5 separate regions of the Homo sapiens genome follow, and regions 1, 2, 3 and 5 are each linked to region 4. The links are contacts of gene promoters, found by promoter capture Hi-C in blood cells and fetal thymus (Javierre and others, 2016). All regions are on one chromosome and are shown on one strand. Each heading gives the region's core, a stretch centred on a gene start or on the middle of the fragment in contact. The rest is flanking DNA. Distances are from core to core; before and after follow the strand shown. Region 1 overlaps PIEZO2 (piezo type mechanosensitive ion channel component 2). Region 2 overlaps PIEZO2 (piezo type mechanosensitive ion channel component 2). Region 3 overlaps PIEZO2 (piezo type mechanosensitive ion channel component 2). Region 4 holds the start of PIEZO2 (piezo type mechanosensitive ion channel component 2). Region 5 overlaps PIEZO2 (piezo type mechanosensitive ion channel component 2).

Region 1 (5,332 bases), core at 2,225-4,724, 380 kb before region 4:
AAAGCCCTGTACACAGGTTGTCATCCTATCTGAATATAACCTTGTGGGGCCTGAGGGCCCTGCCTCAAGGGAAGGGGCCTCTGAGAACCAAAGCCTCCTGGGCCCTGCACTTACCCATCCCTGGCTTCCCTCTCCCAGAGAACCCCAGTTGCAACTATCACCTCCAGGCTGCAACCGCCTGCAAGAGATACTCCTCCCTGTGCAGCAAGTGCTCACTGTGGACACCTCTAGCACAGCAGTTATTATCACTTTTAGTTTTATTTGGCAGCCATTCCCATCAGGCTGTGAGCTCAGACAAGAAGTGTGTCTTTCAAGCTACTACACTAGCACCTAGCACCATGTACGCATTCACTTTATTGTGAGTCCTTAATAAAGGCTCAATGAATGCTTAGTGAGAGTGAAAATAATAACAATGATGAGACAGACAAGAAGGAGAAACCTCAGGTCTGCAAAAGTTTCCTTCCTTCCTTCCTCCCACCTTCCATTCCCTCCCCTCCCCTCCCCTCCCCTTCCCTCCCCTCCCCTTCCCTTCCTTCTCCAATTGGCCAGGCCCCCCAGGGAGGAGCTGAGGTGCTAACAGAAAGTGTGGCTCTTGCTCAAGACTCACTGACCTCACAGAGCTGTCCAATAGCCTTCGGAATTAGAAAGTAGCTGTGTATTTCAAAAGGAGGAGAAAATGTTTATGTATACTATATATATATTTAAATCTAGATTATTCCAAAGCAGTGTCACTCCTGAATAAGATGCTGATGGAAAATAAAGGTTTCTCTGTTTCTTTTCCAGCAACTTCTTCTTTTTCAGATGCTTCATGATGCTAACTTTGAAAAGGTTTAATATTTGCAGGAGAGATGAACCCAAAAGTTGTGAAAACAAGCACCCTTACTGAGGCCTTGGGTAAGGATGTCTGGAACCCAGAGCTGCCACAGCTCCTGAAGAGCTTTCTTTGTGGAGAGGGGCTGCATCCTGCCTGTCCCCCAAGCCCCCAGTGCCAAGATGATGGGGCAGGTGGGGATGCAGGGAGGAGAACGTCCTCTGCGCGCAGCCCGAGTGAGGAGCTAATGACTCGGAGCCCGATGCGTGAACCCTGGAGCTTGGGCACTGGTACCCATGGGGCCAGAAGAGATGAAGAGCTCTGGTTACAGGGTGCAGAGTCTCTTTGCTGGGCTCCATGTGTACAAGCAGAGCAGGGCCTGTGTGAGGGTGGCCCCTGGTCCTGATGGGGAGGCACAGAGCACCCAGAGCTGCTCCAAGGCTGCGGGGAAGGCTGTCTGGAAGGGCAGCAGGACTCCACAGAGGAGTCCAGGAGGAGAAGGTGCTGGCAACCAGGGGCTGGGTGTCAGTGCCGGCCAAGAGTGGCTGTGGGATGCCCCACCGTGGAGCCTCCAGGAGGGCAAGGGCAGGTTTACCCGCCAGTTGCCAGCCCAGAGCGTGAGGCCATCATGGGATGGCACAGGCCAAGTCACAACATCCCCATCCCAGGGGGCCTTGCCCTGAGCCTGTGAGTCTGAGCTCCAGCCCAGGAAAGAATAAAACAAAAGAAGGAATAAAGAGCCTCTGTACAGTGGATTTTTTTAAAAAAGGACTAAAGAGCCTCTGCGAGGTGGATTTTAAGGAGATGTGGGTGAGAAAGAAAGGATCAGATAAGAAAGGAGGAGCTTCTACCTGGGGAGGGACCCGAGTCTCGATGATTCTCTGTGGGTGCACAATTTTAACTACTGAAGTGAGATTTTGCTCACTTAAGTCACTGTAGGATTTTGTATTTCTTAGGAATGATCAGAAAGTGCGCTGTGTTCAGGGACACGGAGGAAAGTTTCCCTGTAGGATGCATTCTAAAGGGACCATGAGGGTCTGAAGAGAAGTCTTTTGATTGGATGTCATCACCAAATTGATTGCTTAGTGTGCCAATTACATTAGAAAGAGCCAGCAATGCACACACTGTCAAGAACCCAGAGACCAAAGCTTCAGGGCCGGAAACCCCCCATGCAGGTGGGGTGACATCACGCACAACACGAGTGGCTGAAACAATTTTACAGCAATGGGATTTGGCAGATGCTAGCAGCAGAAAGAGCAGGATTTCTATGCTTCAGGAGTCTCTCACTTGTTTTAAAGTTAAAGGTGAGAGAGATGAAATTAGGAATGAAAATTCTGAAAGTCTGCACAATGTGTGAATCACAGAGAAGGGAGTGGTGATACTCTATGGAAGGCTGTTTTCCCAAGAGTGTAACAAGGTAACTAGATATTCTGTTTACTTGATGGTCTGTTAACAAGTTTATGTCTGGGGACTCATTAAGGATAATGAAAAAGTTATGTCTGCCTTTTGTTTAGGATCTATAAGAAATTGCATCCTTTAACCCTTTTCTGATGGATGGATTGTACAACAGGATGGATTTATGACAGCAGATTCTCTGCGTCCGACTCCCATGAATTTCCGCTCCCCCAATGCCCACTCCCATCACCACACTGTCTGAACACACCTTCACACCCTGCCACGCAGCTTCTCATGAATCAGAAGTCACCTGTACCTCAGACTGGATTTGTTCAGAAATGGTCTCTGTGCATTTTTTGTCAAATGCCTTCTCTTGTTCTTTTCCATTTCTCTTTAATACCCTAACCCTGAAATTTTTATCTGAACTGTTCAATTCACCTCTACAGTTAAAATGCTTAAATGTTGGCTCTCAATGAATATAAATACTAGGCTAGATTTGGGCTCCATTTAACGTATACGCCCAGTGACTTAACATTGGAGCCGCTGCCATTTCCCCACGAATCTCGCAGATAGAATGGCTTCTGTTTTCATTCCCACTTGGCAATGATTCCCTGCCCATTTCATATGGTTTGTATGAAATGGGGGAGAAGTTCTAGTTTAGACTATGGAGCTCAAATTAAGGTTCATCTCTTAGCTACCTATTTGTGAAAAGTTTTAGGTTTGTAGTGTTGTAGTTGTGATATTTTACTGTTATATATGTAACTTTTTAAAGATTATAGGCAGTACTCCCTTGATTAATTTTTAGAGGGCAAAGAATTCTTGAATTGTAACCAACTCAGAAATAATCCAGGCATATAGAAGTATGCAAACACTATTTGTTGAATAAAAGGAAAGAAAGCTAATTTCTCTGCAGTGAACATTAAATAATCTGTTGGCTGGATGACGACTCTCTTCTTTACAATCAAGGAAACAGAAGTGCAGTACAGGTGCATGGCTGAAGACTTTGTATTGTATCTCAAGAAATCCAGTAGTAAACAAGGTGAACTCTACTAAAGATTTTATTAGATTTTGGAACCTGAGCTTTCTCCTTGGTAATGTAAACTGGAATGCTACTGTTTTCCTTGGAGAATTTAGGGAGATAGATTCCCATAGGCAGGGGCAGAAGGGCAGCCTGCTCTCACACTCTTCCCTAAGGATTCGATGAAAATAAGTAGCCTTTGTAATATGACCAAGCCAACGAGAAACTCAGCCACGAGCCTCTTTCCTTTTTCTCAGTGCTGCTGACCCTCGGATTTCTGTAAGTGTAAGTACTTAGTCTTGGAGTCTTGATACTCCGATGTAATGCGGATCACATTAAAAAAATCATGGACAGCTGGAAAAGGAAAATGATGACCTACTGTGGTTCTGTTCAGCCTGATGATAGGACAAATGTTCACTTGCCTCTTTCACAGAAACCCAGATAATGTAAGAGGAAACGATTTTGATGATGTGCAACTCCAAAATCCACCACATGAACACCTGCAGCTTGTGAAAATACTCCAGGAATTTTAAGAAGAGCACAGTGAGGCGGTCAATCACCAGGTGCCATTTGTTCCTTAAGTCTGCAAAATAGGAAGTACAGACAAGAGCATAACATTTTTAAAAATATTATCATTTAAAGCATATCTTGTAACTTTCAGGTTGGAATGAGAGGCTGCAAAATAATTACAGTGGATGAATTCTAAGAAAACCAAAATCTGGAATAAGGATGATGTAAGAATCCCAAGTCATGATGACACAGATATCATACTCTCAGACTTGGAGGGACAATGTGGCTTTTGTCCACCTTTTGATTAAATTAGTGTAAAGAAGGATTTTGACATTATCTTCCTTCCTTCCTTCCTTCCACTCGCTTGCTTGCTTGCTTTCTCTCTCTCTCTTTCTGACAGAGTCTTGCTCTGTAGCTCAGGCTGAAGTGCAGTGGCATGATCAACATTATTTACTTTTCTTTCTTTCTTCCTTTTCTTTTTCCCTCCCACCCTCCCTCCCTTCCTTCCTTCCTTCCTTCCTTTTTCTGACAGAGTCTTGCTCTGTAGCCCAGGCTAGAGTGCAGTGGCACAATCTCGGCTCACTGCAACCTCTGCCTCTTGAGTTCAAGCGATTCTCCTTGAGTAGCTGGGACTACAGGCACATACCACCATGCCCAGCTAATTTTTGTATTTTCAGTAGAAATAGGATCTCGTCATGTTGGCCAGGCTGGTCTTGAACTCTTGGCCTCAAATGATCCACCAGCCTCAGCCTCCCAAAGTGCTGGGAGTACAGGCATGAGCGCCCATGCCCCCAGCCCCCTTAATCTTATTTACTCTTAAGACCAAACTATAATTTTCTAATATTCTAGGAATGTTAAATAATCTTAACTCCTTCTAAAAGACATCTTTCTTGCCACAACGGCACTTTTATAAATGGCCTGTCTCCTTCGACAAGGCTTAACTGGTGAGTGGTAAAGCTCTCTGGTTTCCATGAAAAAGTGAACCAGTCAGAGCCCTGCATGGGCAGGAAGAGCTTGCTCCTTGTCAGAACAAGAAGTGAACTCTAAGCATCAGAATGACTCAGCCCGTGGTTTTCTGAAACATGGTCAGATTCATTCAAATGATAATTTTTAATCAAATTACTTATTTTATTATTTCTACCTTGTGCTAAAACAGGAGTCATGCTTCTATCTAGAAGGACTATGCTGGCTCACTTTATTGACTGAAAGTCACAGCAGGACTGTTTTGTAATATCAGCCTGTCTTGTTTGTAAACAAAAGCTTACAAGTCTGTCTTGGCAGATTACAAGTCCTAAGTATCTCTTTAAGTAGCTTCTTTAACTGGCTTGGGTATATGCAACAGTTACTGTGCCTGGTTCTGAAAGCTAAGTAAGGTTCTAGTTATTGTGAAGTATGCTTACAGTAGTTCTCTTTTATCCATGGCTATGCTTCCCAAGATTTCAGTTACCTGCAGTCAACCACAGTCCAAAAATATTAAATGGAAAATTCCAGAAATGATTCAGAAGTCTTAAGTTACACACTGTTCTGAGTAGAAGGATGAAATCTCATGCTGTCCCGCTCTGTCCTTCCCCTTGGAATGTGAATCCCTTTGTCCAGCA
Region 2 (5,190 bases), core at 1,036-3,535, 330 kb before region 4:
CATATCTTTTTAACACCTGCCTGACTAATATGAATATATACTTGCATAAAGGTATCTACCTACCCACCTAGAAGTAGAATGTTCTGATTAAAACAATATTTTTATCAAAGGCTTACTATATATAAACACTATATGAATAATAAATATTTTATTTGTAACCAGCTTATACATTAAAATGAATAATTACATCTTGCCTTATTTTCTCTCTTCTTACCTCATTTCAGATACAACCTAGAAGTTTTCCAGGTTGCTGGAACCAGGAAATATGAGTCAAGTATCACCCCCACCCACCACCACCTTTTTCATCAAAGATTCTACCCACAGCACCATCCTGCGCCCTCCCTGTCTCTCACCATTTACAACATAGACCTCAGGTGAACATACATCCTCTTTCAACTTCTTCCACACTTTTGTCTTTCTTGAATTCTTAGCAGAGAATCTCAGGAAAACTCCTTGTTCTCTTTTTACTTTCTTTTTATATTGTTTGTAAATTTAAACGTGATTAGAGTCATTGATTACAAATGCAATAGTGCTAGTATAAATTTGTCAGAGAAAATCAAAGTTACACATTTTGTAATGAAAATAGATTTTCTAACAAGTTTCTTACCTTCTAAAATGTGTTTCTCAAGTTATGAGACCCTTTAAAAATTGCTATTCATTTGTACTAATACATTTGTAAATGTAACAGAAAATAATAATTAGTAGAAAATGATCACATGCCTGCATGTCACCACAATGTCATTGTGCTATATAAATTTTAAATGCTTTCTCTCAACGTCTGCATTTAACTTGTTGAAAATCTGTTTCAAACAATTCATGGACCAGCACTGATCTGCCATTTGGGATAGCAGTGACTTAGAGTATTAAGTCAGAATATTGTCAATCATCTCTTGCTAATGGCTTACCCATCCCTAACTAACATTTTCTACAGCTTTATATTGGAAATAAATAGCTGAAACTTTTCCTCCCAATAAAGTTGGTATTCTTAAAATTACCATTATAATCAATGATAGTAATTAAAATTCCCTTTTCCAGGGTGGTGATGGCTAAAAATACCTTTGAGAAAACACTGAAACAAACTTCCTATTATGTCTTAGAGGCCCTGACACTTAGTTGGAGAAGCTCCCTGATTAGGAATGCTGGAGCACCAGGCTCCTTTCTGCTAAGTCCCAGCCCTGGAAAGCATGGAGGGAACCAGGCCAGTGTCTGCTGGCCTCCAATCAGCCTAGTGGAATCAGCTCTCATAGGTCGGGAAGGAGTGAACCTGTGGACTAAAGAACGGCACAGCAGGAGCCGGCTCACCACATTTCCTGTTAGATGTTATCAATGCTTCTCTTTGCAATTTTGTGAACGCGTTGGGGTGCACTAAGCGGCTAATGAATGTCTACTTGCCAAGTTTCTAAAAGGGAGTATGAACCAAAAGACAGCCAACAAACAGAAGTCTGCTACTGTGGATTAAACTAACTTTCATAAATTAAACTTGGAAATTAACATTTATATCTAACCCAGAAAAATCAGCGGCTCAACAAACTTTTGGAACTCAGCTAGATTGAAGTCTGTGAACTTCTTAGACATTATACAGGCTGCTATTTTAAAACAAATAGAATATCTCTTAATACTAAGATGATTTGAAAATGATATAACTTTTTCTTTCATGATTCAGAAAGTATTTAAGACATTTTATGACCTTAGAGCTATTGCCAGTAACATCAACTCCATTATAAGGTACCGAATAGGTAGAAGTAGAGAGCTTGAAAGAATTTGCACTGGCTTGCTGAAATGTCTAGGTTCTCTTTTTAGACAGAAAAGATTCTTTTTATTTATGTATTAACATTTTTGTTTTTTATTAAGAATAATTAATTTGAGCTTTCAGATTGTTTAATTTTGCAAAAGTAGGAAATTTTCTCTTACTTTCTTATTTTGTATTTTGGAGATTACTTCTAACAAAAACAACCTGCCGCTTCTCTTTTATTCCCTTCACAACTATGATGACTTAAATTGTCCACTCAACAACGGGAGTATTTAAAAGAATCACTACATATAGCCCTGAATTTTTTCTCACACATCCTGTTAATAGCCCTAAAGTGCCATCTGTTATCTAGAACGTGTGAAAAATAAAAGAATCAAAGCTGCACATTATTTTGGTGAATGCTTGAAGGAATAATTTTTTTCATTCACGCATCCTCAAATATGCTTAGTTTTCATCTTCAAATATGGCCTTCCTTAAATGGAAACAACCCAGTTCAAAAAGTACAGAGTGTGTGGAGAAACAAAGGGAGGGGAGGGATAAATGTAATTGCAATCAACAGGTGCAGATACAAGCAATACAAAGCTAGTCTTTGAAGAATCAGAGGGAAAAAGAATCCCACAATAATTTACCAACAACACAAGAGACTGACATGAATGGTGAATGGCTTTCCATTTTTTAATTGAATGTAATGATAGGACTTATAAAACATACACAGACACCCATTGCTCAGAGGAAGCACATATTCGCATTCTGCCACATTTCGTTCTGCCAGCACACTTAAGAAAAAGTAATTAAAACTTCATGGCATAGCTAAAGCCTTGCCTACAGTTCTTTCACTCCTCCTCTTCCTTCTTCCTCAAGCCTTATCCTAAGGTCAGTGTATATCATTCCCATGAATATTTAACTCACTTTTTCTACATATGTATGCACCCATAAATAATACATACAATTGTTATATGAATTTAACCCTATATATATATTTTATGCACATATATAATATAGTCCATTTTAACTTCTGGGTAGTATTTCATTGCATAAATAAACCACAGACTACTCTAGAAATCTGGGGCTAGGGAATAATTTACGAGAGTAGCAAGAGACAAGTCTCCATAGTCTGTGGGAAAAAATGTATTTAAAATAAAGGCAACAAGAAGGTGATATAAAGGCCTTCAAGACCTTAATATTTGCAGAGCCTTGGTTTCCCATCTGCAGCTTTCTCTGCTGGAGTTTTTCAAAACTTCTTTAGGTTTTATGTTTTATTTAGATACAGACAAGTTATTGCATATATGCTTTCATGTTTATTTAAGGATATTTGTTGGCTATGAACAGTAATAGTGCAAAGCTAATAAAATTTTAAATGAACATGACAGAGAAATTTAGATTTAGATTTCTAGATAACTTATGACATATATATGTATATTATGGAATACTATGCATCCATTTAAAATAATAAAAAAATCCATCTATCTATATATCCATATCTATATTTGATATGAAACAAGTTCCAAGATATATTTCAAGTGTTTTTTTAAATTTTAGAACAATTTTAAATTTACAGACAAGTTGAAAACATACTACAGAGAATTCTCTATACCCATTTTCCTCGACTGTTAAATCTTACATTAGTATGATACATCTGTCACAATTAACAAAACAATACTGAGACATGATTTTAAACTAAAGTCCATATTTTATTGAAATCTTCTTAGTTTTCACCTAATGTCATTTTCTTTATTTTTGTTTGAAACAGAGTCTTTCTCTGTCACCCAGGCTGGAGTGCAGTGGTGTGATCTTGGCTCACTGCAACCTCCACTTCCTGGGTCCAAGTGATTCTCCTGCCTCAGCCTCCCGAGTAGCTGGGACTACAGGAACCCGCCACCATGCCTGGCTAATTTTTGTATGTTTCATAGAGATGGGGTTTCACCATGTTGGCCAGGCTGGTCTTGAACTCCTGACCTCAGGTGATCCACTCGCCTCGGCCTCCCAAAGTGCTGGGATTACAGGAGTGAGCCATCATGCCCGGCCACCTAATGTCCTTTATCCACACTAGAATCCCATGCAGAATGCTGCATTACATTTAATCATCATGTCTCTACGGGCACCTCTAGGCAATGACTTCTTAGATATTTCTTGTTTTTGATGAGCTTCACAGTTCTGAGTTCTCATCAGGTATTCTGTGGAATGCCCCTTTGTTTTGCTTTGTTTGTTTTCTCATGGTTATGCAGGGGTTAAGGATTTGGGGGAGAAAGGTTGCAGGGGTAAAGTGCCATTCTCATCACACCATTCCAAGGATACATGCTATCAACATGACTTATACCTGATGATGTTAAGTTTGATCACTTGGCTGAGTGTTTGTCAGGTCTCTCCACAAAGAAGTTGCTCTTTTTTTTTCCACTTTCTTTCCTTTCTTCCTTTTTTTTTTTTTTTTTTGAGACAGAATCTTGTTTTGTCACCCAGGCTGGAGTGCAGTGGCACAATCTCGGCTCACTGCAACCTTTGCCTCCTGGGATCAAGCAATTCTCCTGCCTCAGCCTCCCAAGTAGCTGGCACTACAGGCATGTGCCACCATGCCAGGCTAATTTTTGTATTTTTAGTAGAGATGGGGTTTCACCATGTTGGCCAGGCTAGTCTCGAACTCCCGACCTCAGGTGATCTGCCTGCCTCAGCCTCCCAAAATGCTGGTATTATGGGTGTGAGCCACCATGCCTGGCCTCCACTTTCCATACTCTATATTTTGGAAAGAAGTCACAATGCACAGCCCACACTCAATGGGGTGGAAAGTTAGGAATTATTCTGAATTCTTCCATTTTGGACAGAATTGCCTCTTATCTCCCATTTATTCATTCAATCATTTACTTATATCAATATAAACTCACAATATGCATTTTATACCCAAGGTTTTACTCCAATACAACTTTATTTATTTTGTTCCTCAAATTATTCCATCTTTGACCACTACCCTGACCTAACTCTAGTATCAGCCATTTCTCCAAGGAGCCCTGGTTCCTTTTATTGGAGAGTGGTATTTAGAAACCAAGATGTGGGCACTAGCTGTGCTCACTGCAACAGCTCCTCATTGCTTCTAGGCCCTCTCACCTGAAAGAACAAGAAAATATGTGTGCATATACGCAGATATAGAAATATTTATCCATATCACCATCTGTATTTATGTTAAAGTAAATATGAGTTCCTAATGATGACTCCAATTCCAATCTGTTATCATATTGTTCTAGCCTTCCCTTGTTGCTTATCTGTAACCTCCCTCTCAAACAGGAAGACACCTGCTGCCTCATCTGCCATCTATTTACTTATTTGTTTAATCACTCTATACATGTATAGTGATTTCAGAACTGATAACATGTACTTCTATTGGAAACTAATCAAATAAAGCACAGTGCTTATATGCAGTTCCTTTTGTCTTCAGTCATACAATCTCCACT
Region 3 (5,302 bases), core at 1-2,500, 280 kb before region 4:
ATGTCTGACTTCTAAGTCCACTCAATTTTCAATACTTATCCTTTCCCCTCCTTCTATAGTTATTATTTATGAGGATAATAATGCATGCGGGGCTTGAAATCTGGATGACGGGTTGTTGGTTGCAGCAAACCACCATGGCACATATATACCTATGTAACAAACCTGCACTTTCTGCGCATGAATCCCAGAACTTAAGTTAAAAAACAAACAAACAAACAAACAAAAACTTGCTTTTATAAATCATAAAAATAACAAATACCCAGTCTGAAGAATGTGAGTTACTGGTTTACTTTCCCCAAACTTAGGCAAATTTTGGTAAAGATTATTTAAATAAAGTCATTTTCAAACTGTAAATGTAAAAAATAGTCAAAATTTAAATCCTCTGTCTTACAATTGGAATGTCAACAAGAAGAAGAAGCACTCTTCCGTTTTTAGGGCACTAATGCATGCCTTATGGTGTCAAGTCTTGAAAGTAAGATGTAAGTGGTTAGTAGTGACTTTGACTTTACTATAATTACTGTTACACCAAGCATCATTTTAACATTTGCCTTAAAAATAGCAGAATATTGATAAGCAAGGTGATTGCATATCTTTTACCCATAAGAATTTTAGACAATGTATATATTTTTTAAGACAGAGTCTCGCTCTGTCACCCAGACTGGAGGGCAGTGGTGTGATCTCGGCTCACTGCAACCTCTACCTCCTGAGTTCAAGTGATTCTCCTGCCTCAGCTTCCTGAGTAGCTAGAATTACAGGCAAGCACCATCACGCTCAGCTAATTTTTGTATTTTTAGTAGAGACAGGGTTTCACCATGTTGGCCAGGCTGGTCTCGAACTCATGACCTCAGGTGATCTGCCCACCTGGGCCTCCCAAGGTGCTGGGATTACAGGTCTGAGCCACAGTGCCTGGCTAGACAATATCATTTCTAGTTTGCATAGGTTTATTGAATTCTATCCCTCCTTTATTGTTTTTTAAATAAGCATACAAGGAAATTGTCTGCTTTCTTGTGAACCATATAAATCATTTTCCATAAGTGAGAATTTTCCTCCCTCAATGGCTCATCGGTTAACATTCTCAATATAAGTAACTTCAATTAACTTCAGTTTTATAAGTGTAATATCTTGCCAAAGCTTATGACTGAAAACATTTAGTACTTGCAAGCGTTTTGCATCAAATGTCCAAATAAAATAGTCACTTTTTCCTTTATAAATGTTATCTTTCCACTAATAAATCAATTACTCTTTAAACTGATGTCTCCTAACCTCACCTAACAAAGTACAGTTATTAGAACATAACAGTGTCCTGAGGCTGGTCAGGGGGCAGCGTGAGAGCCGTCTGACAGCTCTGATACCCAAGGACGAAAATAGGACAAGCTTCCAATTCAGCAGTTGCTCCTGAAACCTTTCAACCAGCTAGCAAACATACATCTCGTTCATTATTTTTACCTTTTTAAAATTCTCACACTTTTCCAAATATGTATGTTTTTCCCCCTTGGAGTGCTTTAAAACAACTTGATCAAAGCATGCCAAGTTAACACCAGTCCACTGAGCAGGACAAGGTGCACAGACTGGAAAGCTGCCCTGCAAGGAGGAACTCATTTTTTTCCCTAAAACTACCAGATGTTACTTCTTTAAATATTCTGCAATAACTAAGGTACCCAGACCAATTGAACCATAACACTATGTATGACCTTGCACGGTTAGCCTCCGAGATAATATCACGTGATAGTTTGGGGTGGTGGGTCAAAGCCTGGCCCTTACCTATGAACACCCCTGAGCCTGTCTTCTCATGGCTAAGGTGTGGACCAGAGTGTCTGCCCACCGGGACTGCACGAGGGTGTCATGCAATTTGACAGTAAACGTTTATGTCAAGCACTGTGAATCATAACGTGCTCTGTATGCTCAGCTGTTATTATCATAGTTCTGCAACTTATTAAGGGTCAAGGTCCTCAGAAATCAAAGAAGGAAGAGACATGGAGTTGGATTTACCAATTCTTCATTTTCAAACTCCGGGTTACTCTGTGCTGCTTCGTCTGTCACAGGTTTCTGAACAATGTTTCTACAGAGGAGCCAGATGGTCAGACTAGCAATGAACATCCCGATGTCAGGTACAAACACTCTGATCCCATTGCCAGCATCAGCTCCCTTTAAGCTATAAAGGAAAAACAAGGGGAGGGGAAAAAAATTTAGTTCTTATATTTCTACGGTTAAACTGCCTTATAGGATGTTTTGGTCTTCTTAATGATTTAAAATAAAAGATGCTCCGTTTCTCCCTAAAAGGTACAAGAAAGCTTTTTATTGACCTCAGTGTCTCACAAAATCTACACATTCAGGAAGATTCCAGTGTTCCCTGGAGTTTCAGAAATATTATAAAGAACTTTTGAACCAATCCTCACTCCTAAAACGTCCTAATGGACTATGTTTTTGTTAAATAAACCACATGTCCAGTACAAATGCAGTTGTTTGCAATCTAGCTGAAGCAGTCTAAAACTAAATACATACTAGCAGCTAGAAGATATTTTACTTTTGATATAAGTCAAAGATACAAGGAAAATAGAGAAAATGTTAAAGTAATCCTGGAATCCAGGACCTCTTCATTATTTTGTATACTTGGTTGATTTTGTCTTCTGTATTGTTCCAAGAAAGGTGGATCCAGTACATTTTCTCTTTTAATCCCAGAGAAACAACACTGAACTTAGAAGATTTGAGTTCAAGTCCAAGTCTGAAACTTAGTAGTTGCATCCTGCTGGGGGCTTCTCACAGCCATCTGTTCTGCTGTGCTGAGGAAGTAATACTATTTGCCTTCCTTATTTTGTTCAAGTGACATGAGATACTAGGTCACGGTTTTAGAAGAAAATATAAATACATATACATGAAATAATGTTCGTGAAAGTTCTTTGTAAAGAATGAAACACATATTTTCACTAAGCCTACATTTTGAGAAGAGCAGCATCAATTGACACTTAGATAATTTTCACACATATAGGGCATTTTTGTTATAATTGAGATCCTGAAACAAATATATTTAATAATATAGCAGGCAGCAAAGGCCAGAAGGTGAAGTGGAGAGTAGAAAGGGCTTCAACTGGAAAAGGAGGAGAGATCTGTCTGGGAAGGTAATACAAACGCCATCTGTGATTTTGGGAGGCGTCCAGTGGTAATGAATATGGGAATGAGAGGCAGTATACTGAGTTGCCAGCATAGTTGGCCAGCACACATCACCTCAGCTGAAATGTGTTCTGGCTAAGCTCACTCTGCTGCAAGACACCAGAGCTTAATAGGCACTGGCAGACTTCTCACACCATTCAGCACACGACACGGGCCAGCCATGTCCCTCATCCGGTGCTAGATGCCTGCCCTGTGTGCCTTTGCAACACTGAGCAACTGGGCTTGCAGTGCTCTAGTGATGTGTAGTGCTGTAACCACAGTACCTATTACTATTATTAAAGCCACATGAAGAGCGATTCCCGGCATGTTCTCTGCTCACTCATATAATATAAAATAAGCTGTAACAAGAAAAAGCTAATGAAATGACTAGGTGATATGAAGAAAAAGTTATACAGACTTAGGTTTACAAAATGAGTTTAAAATAGGGAGGATACAGGTAGAGGAGTCAAGAGTCTGTACCAGCATTAAAACTTCTGGGGAAGATAAGATGATCCATGGAAAAATCAAGCATAGAACTTCAAAGGAGGGTTAAGTCTTTGAAAAAATGTTTATCAGAGATACAACTTACTTAGGGAAAGGAAGCAAAAGATAGGGCAATATACCATGTAAATACATACACACATATATACATATTCATATGCACTTTAAGTGATTACACACTGTATTCGTTTACATTATATATTATATATTTTGGTGAAAATATTTAAAAATATTAAATAGCAAGAACCTTGGCATCTAGAAATAGCTACTGTTAATATTTTGGAAAATAAAAGTTATCAATAATACCTACCATTTTCTGAGCAGTTACTTCGTGCTAAGAGCTTTAGACACATTATTAATTAATCCAACCAACCATCATATTGAGTTAGGCATTATTATCCTTTTACACGTGAAAAGACTAAGGCTTCAAAAGGCAATCTAACTTCCCAAAAGCCACATAGAGAACAGAATTATACTCCATTCTCCCTACGTTCACTTTTATGCTTTCAACCGCTTTCCCATGTATGTATCCACATGGCCTTCCTTTCCAATCTTCCTTCTATACATGGATGTGCACATTTATACTTAACAAAACTAAGTTCATTATTTACCTACTGTTTGCAAGCTGATTTGTTCATTTAACATGTCATTAACATTTTTACAACTCATTGATGATTTATTTTTATATATCATCATACTAATGGACAGACGGTATTTAACTAGTCAACTACTGTTATAAATAGAATGTTTCCACGTATTTGTTACTATAATATACATAAAAATTAAAACTTAATTAAAGAGTCTTCTAATCTAGGATCTCCTAGGAATCAATCTTCAATCTAATCAGATTTGCTTTAAAAAATGGTCTAGCCTGAAACTATGACACTACTAGAAGAAAACATGAAAACTGCTAGAAGAAAACTATAAAACTACTAGAAGAAAATATGAAACTACTAGAAAAAAACACTGTGGAAACATTTCAGAACATTAGTCTGGACAAAGATTTTTTTGGGTAAGACCTCAAAAGCACAGGCAACAAAAGCAAAAGTAGACAAATGGGATTATATCAAGCTAAAGAGTTTCTGCCCAGCAAAGGAAATAATCAACAGAGTGGAAAGACAACCTAGATAATTGGAAAAAATATTTGCAAACTATCCAGCTGAAAGGAATTAATAATCGGAATATATAAGAAGCTGAAACAATCTAATAGTAAAAATAAACAACCAATTAAAAACAGGCAAATGACTGAAATAGACATTTCTCAAAAGAAGACATACAAATGGACAACAGCTTATGTAAAAAAATGCTCAGCATCACTCATCATCAAGGAAATGCAAATCAAAACCACAACGAGTTATCCTCTCACCCTAGTTAGAATGGTTATTATCAAAAAGACAAAAAAAAATGCTGACAAGGATGTGGAGAAAGGGGAACCCCTGTATACTGTTGGTGGAAATGTATAATAGTGTAGCTACTATAGAAAACAGCATGGAGGTTCCTCGAAAACTTAAAAATAGAACTACCATATGATCCAGCAATCCCACTGCTAGGTATATACTCAAAAGAAAGGAAATTAGTATATCTAAGAGATATCTGCACTTCTATATTTACTGCGGCACTATTCACAATAGTCAAGATATGGAATCAACTTGAG
Region 4 (5,732 bases), core at 1,736-4,235:
AACCTTTAGTAGGACTGACAGGCCCCAACCCCAGCATCCGCGGGGCTTGGAGGCAGGTGAGCTGAGTCCAGGGAGCCCAACCTGCAAGAGCCTATGCTCAGGGCAAGGTCGCAGGCAATCGCTGCTGGCACTTCATTCCGCCACTGGTGCCAAGTCACAGAGTGGACCGAGCTGGCTGCAGGGAACCACATGCCTAACTCTTCCAACAGTCACAGTGAGCTGCTGTCCCTTGGAGAGCGGGATGGGGGATGGGGAAGAGGGTGTCCATCCTCCAGGAACAGTGGCGAGGAGGACGGTGGATAGAGGGACTGGGAGGGAGCAGAGCGGCCTTTAACCTTAGTGCCACTCCCCAGGACCCCTCCCCGGTCTGCACTGAGGACCATAAATCACGCTTCATGCTAAAAGCCCTTTGTTAACTCGGTCACTAGCTTCCAATTCACAAATAGTAAATGTGCCAGGCACAGTGCCAAGCGCTTAGGATACAGAGATGATCCCTGAGCAGTGACACCCTCTGTGTGTAAGGCACCTGAAGAATCCCTTTCCCAAATCGCTTTTCAAGCTGGCGGGGAGAGAGGTGCATATCCGCTCTGTGGAAGCTTAGCTCTTCATCTATGCGAGTGAGACTAGACCCCTGCAAAATGGAAACTCAAACTGCAAAGTAGAGAACGAGGCCAGCATCCACCCGTGGGTCCCTCCTGCTGCCCCGGGACCCCGCCTGGCCACACCTTCCCTCCACTCGGAGCGCCTTTCTGGGTTTTCCGCTGAGGTTTGTTGAAAAGACGCCTCCCAGACTCTTCACTCACGAAGTGTGTTACAAAAACTCTCCCGGCAACTGTCCTGACCCTCACCAATCACGCTACAGCCCCCATTCGATTGCTTGCACAAAGAAAACATTTAACACAGGTGTGATCAACCTCGGTCAAGATGCAGAGTCATCAACCTCGGTCAAGATGCAAAAAGGTGGCCTTTTCTGCGAAGGCCACGCCCTCTGTAAATACAGTTACTACTTGGTGAAAAGCGCTCTACTTCCTAGCTCTTGTTGGTGAGAGGGAGAGCAAAGAACCAGGGCCCGGCATTCTTACGAGAGGAATTCAATGTCACAGGCACTGCCTGTTTGAGGAGAAGATCAGAAACGGTCCGACTCCCAGAACGCAGCACCCAGTTGCTTTGCACGCCAGGCCAGTCCTGGGGAAACGGTGCAACGCTTGTCTGGGCGTCGAGGAGGCTCCCTTGCGGTCCTCCCTGGGCCCTTGCCAGTCCCAAGGAGTTCCAACCCTGCTTTCTAACCCTTTAAAATCTGGAGAGGGCGGCCGCTGGGAGGCGGGACTAGGTGTTGGGGGTCTATAGCCTTAGCATCCAGTACTTTTGTAGTAGGGGCTTTTGTGGAGGTTTTAAAAAATAAGTAAGAAACGTCAAGGCACTGTCTCCCTGTACCTCGTCCCTCTTTTTCTTTTTTGAATGACCGGAGTCCTTCACTTCTTCCTTCACGGTTGCTGGGATTTGGGGTCTGGGAGAGATGGCCTCTGGGCCGTCTGGAGGCACAGCATGCTGTGCTTGCAGGGTCACTGGGGCGAGGGGCTCAGGTAGGAGCCTGACTGTACCTACGATGGGGACGCATCCGCCTTCCAGCCACAGCAATGGCCATCCTTAGTACACAAGTCAGTACTCCACGAAAGAAAATCCACGTGTAACTAAATTCAACATAAACAGTTTCCAGCACATGCCCGTCCCGAGCATCCTGTTAAGAGATACCCCGATCGCGCGCCCCAGAGTGGGAAGTGAGAGAGCCAGGCTGTGCACCAGGGACAGCGCGCGTCTGACGCCGCTGGCCTCCCGAATCGAACCCCAGAGCACCAGAGCCCTTCACTTTGTTAAGAAGTCCCCCACCCAGGCGCCCCCCTCGTCCTCCTCAAGTGCCCTCGGAAAGCGGACCAGACTCACCTACTGCCAGGCAGATGGGCAGCAGCAGCCTGAAGATGAGCCCGCACACCACTTCTGAGGCCATCGCGTCGGTCCGGCGAGTCGGAGCAGAGGGGCGAGGCTCGAGGGTCCCTAGGGGTGGTGGGACGCAAGGCCCATGCCCGTCTATGGCCTCTCGCCGCCGGCAGCTCGCAGCCACCCGAGCATCGCCTCGGCGCGGGCCGCGACGCTCTCCGCCCCGAGGGCACGCTCCCGGGGCTCTTGGCCGCCCCTCGCCCACCGGGCTCTGGGTAGCCCCTCACCAGGCTCTTGGCGGCCACCTAGCCCGGCGCCCGGCCCCCTGCGGCCGGCCCATTTAGTGTGAATCCTGGATCCGGCAGCGGCGGCGGCTTCTTCAGGGGTAGCTGATGCCGGGGCCTTGGAGAGGGACGCTTTGGGAGGGTCCTGGGAGGCGGCGCGGCGAGCAAAGGGGGCAAGAAGGGCGTGCTGTGCTCCCGCCTGGCTCCCGGGGCGTCGTTTGGGGGCGGCCGGGGAGTTTTCTACTTGGAAGCCCCTCTGAAGCCACCGCGTCTCCTTTGCCCGGCCTCGTCTCCGCTGCCCACGCAGGCTGCCGCGCTCTGGCCTCGGCCCCGGCTCTCGGAGCTGCCCGGCGGGCTCCGGGTCTCGCCCTCCAGCCCCCAGGCGGCCCGCGGCGGATCCCCGAGAGGCAGCGCAGCTCAGCCCCTGCGCCCCCCAGCTTCGGGCCGGAGAGACCGGGGTGGGAGCTGCCAGGCGCGCAGAACCATCCCCGCCACCACGGGGCTCGCCTTGTGGGTCCGGTGCGCGGGCGGCGCTGCGAGTCCCTCCCTCACTCGAAGGAACGGCGCGAGCGTGGGGAGAAATGGAGACCAGAGCGCATATCGGGTGAGTGGGTCTCCCACTCCCTCCTCCACCGCCTCAATTTAAAACTCAAGAGAAAAACCAGCGCCGTCCCGTCGCCCAGCGCGACCACCGCCTGCCGCCTTGCAGCCTCGCCCTCGCGGCGCAGCCGGGGCTCCCCGGCGGCGCGCGCTTCTCCACCTTCAATGAAACTTTCGAAGCCCTCACTCGGGGACGGGCGTGTCCCCCGGCCAATGGGATGGCGGCTCCGGGGCCTGCGCGCGCGGAGCCCGCCCCTGAGCGGCTGGGGAAGTGAGAGCCTTGCACCGGCGCGGAGGGCAAGCCCCCACCCGCGGCTCCCGCGCCTGGGAGAGACCCGGCCTGGCCTGCCAGTGGGCTGCGCGCCTTGGCTCGCCCTCCGCGGGCACTCCTGCCCCACTGGCTCCCGCAGCCCCGCGGCTCTGCGTGGTTCTGTCATTCCGGTGGTGCACCCTGGCATCCAGTCCACCCGGCCGGGCCCTGAGCTTGCCCAAACCCAGGGAACCGTTTAAGGTCCGAGGGAAACGCACAGGCCCGGCAGGAGAGAAGCCAGGGGCTTGGAGAGTCCTGTGCGACCCCGACTTCTGCTGGGTCCACAGGTGCACACTGGCATTAAGAAGAATAGAGCTGAATTCATCTACACCGTTGACCCTGCCCATATTTCACATAGCAAGAACTTGCCATTCTGAATAGACTCTGGGAAATCCCGGGTCTTCCCCAACAGATAATGCACCCACTTTGTGCATTTGGGGGAACTCTCCGTTTTCACCTCAGTTTTGCTCCTTGCTTGTCGTGGCTCTGGGGAAAGAGAGCGTTGGCACTGAGAATATTCTCCCTTTCTCCTAGTGCACTGCTTTTTGCCTGTTCTAGGCAAGATCTAGAGAAATCTGGCTCTAGCTGGGAGACTGCAGTGTGCCTGGGTCTTTTATTTAACTGTTATCCGAGAGTGGAGGAGATTTGCTAGAGCACAGTAGGGGTCTTTCCGGACATGGAGGAAGAGGCTGTTAGCATCTGTAGAGAGGACTGTTCAGGACTGGCATTCCATCAGGAGGACACACTGGGAAGGACCTGGCTTCCCTTCCGCACCTACATTCCTGGCTTGCATTAGTTGGAGGGGATAGAGCAGTGAGCTGATGAAAAACAGGCAAACCCCCGTCTTTTTAGCCATTTGAAACGCTTTTGTGGACATCCCTTTTTTGAGACAGGGTAAGCTTGTGGTTTGAGCTCAGGTGCCTTCACGAATTCTCTGAGAATTACAGAAAAACTATGAACCATTGCTTTTTGAATGAAGACTCAAGACAGTTGGCATATGGTGAAGACACCCTGAAACTTAAACCACCCATGTGCTCTGCCATCCTCAAGAAGCTTAGATAGCACCTAAACCCGGGCGTAGTCATGAGCTCAACAGCAGACCTACAGGAGACGATAGAACTTAAATTAGCATCCAGTCACCAAGAAATGCTATCAAGAAATGGTTTGTGTAGCCTGTTTGTAGAAGCCTGATATAAATCTACCACTAATTTTGATGTTCATAAGTCTGCCTTCACATCCATGCCCTCCCCACCTCACCCCATGTACGACTCATTCTTGGGAGCTAATAGGTGAAGGACTCCTGAATTTTAAATAATACTGTGTCATCACATGAATTCTGTATTCTCTGAATACTTTCTTATGTTCTTGATAGGCTTCCCATACTAACAACTGTCTAGACTTTTTCACAATAATTCTCTTTCAAAATAACATAAGCTGGGAGGCACAAGATTCCCAGCAGGTGGGTGGTCTTACCAAATAAACTTCGAGCTTTCTCTGCCACAGTGTGTACCAACTTGGCTGCTGGGGCGTTAGAGATTTTAACAACTACATCCCAGTTCTGAGACTTCCAACGTATGTACTCAAGGGGAAGTTTCAGCGGTCTAGACTACATCTGAAATAGGCTTCTCCATGCTGGCTACATGTTGCAGTCACCTGGGGAGCTTTTGAAAAACGCTCAGTCTCCACACTCCCTGAAATCCTGATTTAATTGGTCTGCGATGGGGCCCCCACACCTGTATTTTTCTTAAAGCTCTCAAGTGATTCTTAAGTATGCAGTCAGGGGTGAAGACCGCTGTCCTCATTTTCATATCAGACTCAGAAAATAGTCCATTGGCTTTCAAAACCAGCATCTCCAAACCTCATCCACCTTTCTGAAGCTGTATTTTCTTTCACAATGGACTTGACTTGAGCATACATATCCATAGCAGTGGCATTGTTTTTACAAGGGCTGTTTAACCCTCAATTTTCCCTGCTCTCATAGAAGCAGTATCTGGTGTCTAGACAGGTTAGTTTTTAAGGACTCACCAGCCCATGAGGGTATTGATCACTGTTCGGGAGCTCTGCTTGCCTGGCAAACTTTATTCCAAAGTTTGCCAGAATCTTGTCTAAAATTTGAAAGAGTATGTGAGTTTAAAAATGCTTTGGGGAGAAATCAAACATGTAAAATACTCATGGACATATTATTTTGATATTTCATGGGTACCTGATGTGTATAATCACCAGTTTACCCCGGTAATGAATTAAGCACCAGACACCCTATGCCTCTCTGCATCCACAATGACAAACAATGACTTCTTTTGATCATTATTGAGACTTTTAGTGCCTCAGCTTCTTCATCTGTAAGTTAAGGAAAGCAGTAAAACCTACCCAATATGGAGTCTACACAGATAGAGACAGTTTATAGAGTTCTTAGAGAAATGCCTGGTGCATAGTAATCATTCAATGAATATTGGCTGCTATTATTCCTATTATTGTTGTTATTATTGTTGTTGAAAAACAAGAACTAATTCTACATTTATCAAACAATTATGCTAAAGCACAGTGACCTGCAGTGAGACAGACAGCAATATGTTTATGCTCCCAGCAATATGTTTAAGAACTGA
Region 5 (5,300 bases), core at 2,534-5,033, 340 kb before region 4:
GCCCAAAAATGGAAAAGCTTATGGAAATTTTAATAGATCATTAAAATAGACTCAAAGGAGCTACTTCCATTTGTTGCCTTTACATCACTTACACATGCATAAATGATAATTCTAAGGGTATACTAACATCAGATGGTTTGTAGTCATCCTGGGTCATGGATAAAAGCTGCAAAAAGCAATGCGGGAAAGCATGTTAGTAAGGAAGCTGAAAGCATTTTACTGTTTATGTATCTATAAAGTTTTACTGTGCACAAGCCCATTCTCTTTAACTTGCTGATTGCTAGTATATTAATATTGCCATGCAAAATATAAAAGGACAAATAAATGAGCTGGATGCTGCTGTTTATGACAACTATTTCACAGCTCTTGATGTTAATGTTTAGTTATACAGCAGATAAGCAAGTCTATAAATGTTACCATGTTTTTCAAGGGTTATGTTCTACAAGAATAAGCGCTTAGTTTTGTACCCGTTTGAGACATCTGCAGAATTCTGAATGTATTTATGTTTCAAGAAATAGAATTTTCATAATAAAGAAAAATTGGGCTCGGCGCGGTAGCTCACGCCTGTAATCCCAGCACTTTGAGAGTCCAAGGCAGGCAGATCACGAGGCCAGGGGATCGAGACCATCCTGGCTAACACAGTGAAACCCCATCTCTACTAAAAATACAAAAAATTAGCCGGGCGTCGTGGTGGGTGCTTGTAGTCCCAGATACTTGGGAGGCTGAGGCAGGAGAATGGCGTGAACCCGGGAGGCGGAGCTTGCAGTGAGCCGAGATCCCGCCACTGCACTCCAGCCTGGGCGACAGAGCGAGACTCCGTCTCAAAAAAAAAAAAAAAAAAAAAGAAAGAAAAGAAAAGAAAAATTGATTTGTAATGTGGTTAGAGATTATTTTAAGATTTGCATACTGTCTACAACAAAATGATTATTATATGACTCTACTTTTTAACTAGTAATACATTACTACCAGGTGATTTGGGCTTCCCCCAAATAATAATTAGCACAGCAAGTGGTTCTACCACAATTTTAGGTCAGTACTCATTTGCATTCTTAAAAATCACTGAGGGTCCCAAAGAGACTTAATTTATGTGGGTTCTATCTATCAATTATCTACCATACGAGAAATTAGACCAGGTAGTCTTAAAATACTTATTTACTTATGTATTTATTCATTAAAAATTTAAAAAAACCCATTGTGTGTTAGTATAAATAATTTAAATAGTTATTTTTTAAAACAAATAGTGAAGAGAGTGTCATTGTTTTATAATTTTGCATATCTATTTAATGTCTAGCTTAATAAAAGACAACCGGATTTTCACATCTGCTTCCGTATTCAATCTGTTGTGATGTGGTGTTCCGGTTGAAGTAGATAAAGAAAATCTGGCTTCACATAGGTATGCAATTTGGTCAAAAAGAAGTATTTTAGTGCCGGGCGCAGTGACTTATGCCTGTAACCCTAGCACTTTGGAAGACCGAGGCAGGCGGATTGCCTAAGCTCAGGAGTTCAAGACCAGCCAGGGCAACATGGCAAAACCACATCTCTACTAAAAATTCAAAAAAATTAGCCAGGCGTGGTGGCACATGCCTGTAGTCCCAGCTACTTGGGAGGCTGATTCAGGAGAATCGCTTGAACCCAGGAGGCAGAGGTTGCAGTGAGCCAAGATCACACCACTGCACTCCAGCCTGGGTGACAGAGCGAGACTCTGTTGCCAAAAAAAAAAAAAAAAGGTATTTTAATAATCTGTCTAAATAACTGTGGACAGTCTTTGCTACTCGATCAGACTCAACCAGTGTAGTCTTGAATGTCAGTTGTAGTGCAGAATCTGCAACCATATCAGTGAACTTTTCATACATACTCTGCTACATTAAAACCCATTGGCATATCATGCACCCCGACTGGATCATTTATCCACGTGCTGTCATGTCAGGTGTTGGTGAGTCGGAAACTGCTGTTTCAGTGAGTTACAGGTATCGAACTCTACCAAATACTGACAAGTTTCAGTATGCCATGAGTAAAAAGCACATTTGTCAATATCACCTCATCTCATCAGAAAAGTCCACAAATATTGGAAAGTTTTTAAGCCCTCAGTAGATATGAATTTTCAAAAATTCTAATTTTTACTCAAATGCTTAAATTTTATCACTGGTAACAATTATTGTCCGTTGTTTGCCTCAAAGTGATGAGCTCACTTCATTTATTTTCAAGTAATTGTCTGCCAAATACCCAAATCAACCAAATACCCGACAGAGTAAAATTATTTTCTGCAATATAGTTCAGCACTGAAATTTTCACCCTCCAGTGCTAACAGATTGCTTTGCTACTTTTGTTTGTTTTAATTACAAAATTATTTTTTAATAGGAACATTCTTTTTAAGATTAGGAGATTTCAGTAGAAAGCACGGAAATATAAAATGATGTTCTTGACGGGATCTGGGTATTTTCTTTGGAAATAGTTTTCCCTCTCTGGTACTAACTCTCCTAAATCACTGTTTCTATAAACTACAAGCAACCTGAATATGATATGATATATATGATATTATAAGGCTCATATTCAACAGTAAAATACAAAAACAGAAAAATTAGGGAACGGAAATCCCTTTCATCATGGCTTACTTTTCTCTCATCAGTGGGGTAATGGGTTGCGTACCACAGGCTCCGCCTCCTCCCCGCTGTTATTTGGATGGGGCTACAAGCCAGGGCTTTGTCCTCTTCTTTGGTCCCCTCATCCTGCACCTGAAACACAGAAACAGGATCAGTCTTGCTTCCTGAGGCAGTTCCCTAGACAGCCTGGGTGGCCAAGACAGAGCTTTTCATTTTGGCTCAGTATGATGACTTTTCAAAGTGAATGTTTACAATATACAGGATTTTATCAAGACACTTTAAAAAATGACAAAAATACCACCCTGTAATTGTAAGTACACCAGTATTAAATGTCCCCTGATTCTACTAAGCCCCATGCATTACAGAATATGCTCCATTGTTAAATATCCACAGCTTTTCCACGTGCATTCTCAACTGCACTCAAAAGCAGAGATGCACATGGCTCTTAGCCAAGAGCCTTCACAAAGGTGCGCGGTTAACCGTGTAAGCCAGCTGCCGGCAATCTTCAATTAAGACTGGATGTATTGAAGGCAGAATCATCTAGAGCTCACACAGCACTAAGCAAGAGCGTATCTATGCACATGAGACATTTGCCTAAATTAGACAACTGGTCTAGGAAAGGTGATAGAGAGGAATACGAGGAACAGAAGCGCTTCGGTGCCTTAGCATGTTTTCCCAACAAAAGTGTCCTAGTGAAAAGGGCAGTCAGGCATCACTGATACTGGAGTGGAGTGGACTTAGTCTCATTGTCTGGGTCCCAGTGCACCAGAGTAGAACTCCTAAGCAGGGCACCCTAACTCCCTGGGAGGGGCGTTACATTTGCCAGGTGGGGGCCACATATTACACTGAAGTCTCGACACTGACTTTTCTCTCTCTCTTTTTCAAACATGTTTCATAGATGTCTACTTCAGCACTCACATTTGGTGGCCGGTATTTTTCATTAAATGCACCAGGTCACCTGGAACTATGATATAATCAGCTTCTTTTTCTCATTGACTCAATGCAACAGGCCTTCCGTCCCAGCCCATTTGAAATAGAGCCCACATGAAATGTTGATGATAGTTTGAAGCCCACTTCTCTACATACCCCTGCAGACCTCGTGATTTATAACATTGCTGTTGCTGTGTGGCCTATAGCCTAGAAGGTCTTCCCGGCTCTCTCTCTGCTACCTTTGCTTGCCAGACAGCACATGGCAGTGGAAGCAGAATATCGCATGGACCCAAAGTTATAACGGAGCCCTCATCAAGCTACTGCATTATCCAAGAGATGACATGGGATATCCCAGAGAAAGCAAATGGGCTGGGAAATCTTAATAACTAGAAAGCCTTAAAGTAATTTCCATAATGTATAAGAGTTTGTTCAGAAATAGTTCCCATCGTGGTGGCTCATGCCTGTAATCCCAGCACTCTGGGAGGCCAAGGCGAGTGAATTACCTGAGCTCAGGAGTTCCAGACCAGCCTGGCCAACATGGCGAAACCCCGTCTCTACTAAAAATACAAAAAAATTAGCCAGGCGTGGTGTCGGGCACCTGTAATCCCAGCTACTCAGGAGGCTGAGGCAGGAGAATTGCTTGAACCCAGGAGGCAGAGGTTGTGGTGACCCGAGATCATGCCATTGCACTCCAGCCTGGGCAACAAGAGTGAAACTCCATCTCAAAAAAATATATATGTATATTTAATTTTTTATGTACATGTTTTTATTTGTGAATATATACATATACATATGCATGTTTGTGGAGGAATTGGACACAATTTTAATGATTCTACTGGCACAGTCAAATTTTAGAAGAGAACTGAAGAAAAATATAACACAACATGACTGGGATTCCTTACCACCCATAAATCATTTTGTTACTATACAACTGTCATCAGTGGCCTAAAAGAAAGATGATCCATGAGAACCCTGCTAACAAGGATGGCCTCTGAGACCCTAATCCCACAGATGGCTGTTAGCCACTGAGATGGGGGGGAGGTAGCACATAGGAGGAAGACAGCACCATCCTCATTTCTGCAGGTGGCGCTTCTGTCAGGGATGACCGGAGCCATGCGCCTCCTGCAGTTTTACAGTCACTATCTGATTTACAACCTGTTTGCTTCTCTTGGACCATTTTTCTCTTTTAGAATGTACAGCTCTCTAAGTGGGGCCCTGCCTACTGAAGTCATTGCTCTATGCTGGCCCCTAGGTTAGTTTCAGATCCAGTTGGCCTTCCATAAATACTCATTGACTGGCTGACTGATGAACATGTGGGAATGGTCTGTGGGTACAAAGACAGACAGAGAAAGTAGGGAACTTCTGCAGGGCCTCAGGCTAGAAGTGATTCGGAGGAGGGGGACTGGAATGCAGAGACTCAGGCTGGGCCATGCTCATGAGAACTGTCCCCAGCTGTAGGGTTCCCCGCAGGTGGGGCCTGAAAAGGTGCGGCCACCCTGTCTACACAGCTTGTCTCCTTCATGTGTCAATAAGCAACCTTGCAACCGGGCTCCTGACAGTCATTTAGGGGAAAGAAAAGCAGGCTGATATTTTCTGTCACTGAAGGAGAAAAGAGAGAAGAGAAGCCACCCAGGCTTCAGTCCTCCCCTCAGAAATGCTGTGTCCTTGTTCATATTTTCATAGGGAATAAACACCCTCAGTTGTGCTGGAAGAATATTCGAATCCCCATCCCTCACAAGGGGATACTCAGGAGGCAACAGGCACCACCAA

Evidence for each region. Contacts are between HindIII fragments. The CHiCAGO score rates a contact against its expected background, and 5 or more counts as called.
Region 1: a contact is called between a fragment that was not itself captured here and the fragment with the promoter of PIEZO2 in region 4, in 2 of 17 cell types (M0 macrophages and megakaryocytes). The highest score is 5.2, in M0 macrophages.
Region 2: a fragment that was not itself captured here is called in contact with the fragment with the promoter of PIEZO2 in region 4 in 1 of 17 cell types (M2 macrophages); the score reaches 6.0 in M2 macrophages.
Region 3: a fragment that was not itself captured here is called in contact with the fragment with the promoter of PIEZO2 in region 4 in 4 of 17 cell types (M1 macrophages, megakaryocytes, M2 macrophages and 1 more); the score reaches 8.0 in M1 macrophages.
Region 5: a contact is called between a fragment that was not itself captured here and the fragment with the promoter of PIEZO2 in region 4, in 2 of 17 cell types (megakaryocytes and M2 macrophages). The highest score is 6.0, in megakaryocytes.

What each region holds. Positions count from the first base shown.
Region 1 is chr18:10,766,502-10,771,833 of GRCh38, forward strand. PIEZO2 (piezo type mechanosensitive ion channel component 2) reads right to left here. Exons shown (of 56, transcript NM_001378183.1): 21 at 3,647-3,807. Among named protein-coding and RNA genes, the nearest start is that of MIR6788, 9.5 kb to the left of the region's middle. RefSeq lists an enhancer at 3,035-4,234. The HindIII fragment of the contact is 3,035 bases long and covers 1,958-4,992 here.
Region 2 is chr18:10,821,389-10,826,578 of GRCh38, forward strand. The region is part of intron 7 of PIEZO2 (piezo type mechanosensitive ion channel component 2); the gene reads right to left. Among named protein-coding and RNA genes, the nearest start is that of MIR6788, 64 kb to the left of the region's middle. The HindIII fragment of the contact is 7,771 bases long and covers 1-5,190 here.
Region 3 is chr18:10,869,264-10,874,565 of GRCh38, forward strand. PIEZO2 (piezo type mechanosensitive ion channel component 2) reads right to left here. Exons shown (of 56, transcript NM_001378183.1): 5 at 1,990-2,152. Among named protein-coding and RNA genes, the nearest start is that of MIR6788, 110 kb to the left of the region's middle. The HindIII fragment of the contact is 243 bases long and covers 1,130-1,372 here.
Region 4 is chr18:11,146,584-11,152,315 of GRCh38, forward strand. It overlaps PIEZO2 (piezo type mechanosensitive ion channel component 2), which reads right to left and starts at 2,986. Exons shown (of 56, transcript NM_001378183.1): 1 at 1,942-2,986. The coding sequence starts at 2,005. LOC124904249 (a long non-coding RNA gene) reads right to left here and starts at 1,933. Exons shown (of 2, transcript XR_007066288.1): 1 at 1-1,933. RefSeq lists enhancers at 1,479-1,528, 1,557-2,395 and silencers at 2,089-2,158, 2,169-2,348, 2,369-2,648, 2,889-3,338. The HindIII fragment of the contact is 3,432 bases long and covers 595-4,026 here.
Region 5 is chr18:10,801,263-10,806,562 of GRCh38, forward strand. It overlaps PIEZO2 (piezo type mechanosensitive ion channel component 2), which reads right to left. Exons shown (of 56, transcript NM_001378183.1): 9 at 2,613-2,732; 10 at 128-166. Among named protein-coding and RNA genes, the nearest start is that of MIR6788, 44 kb to the left of the region's middle. The HindIII fragment of the contact is 7,536 bases long and covers 16-5,300 here.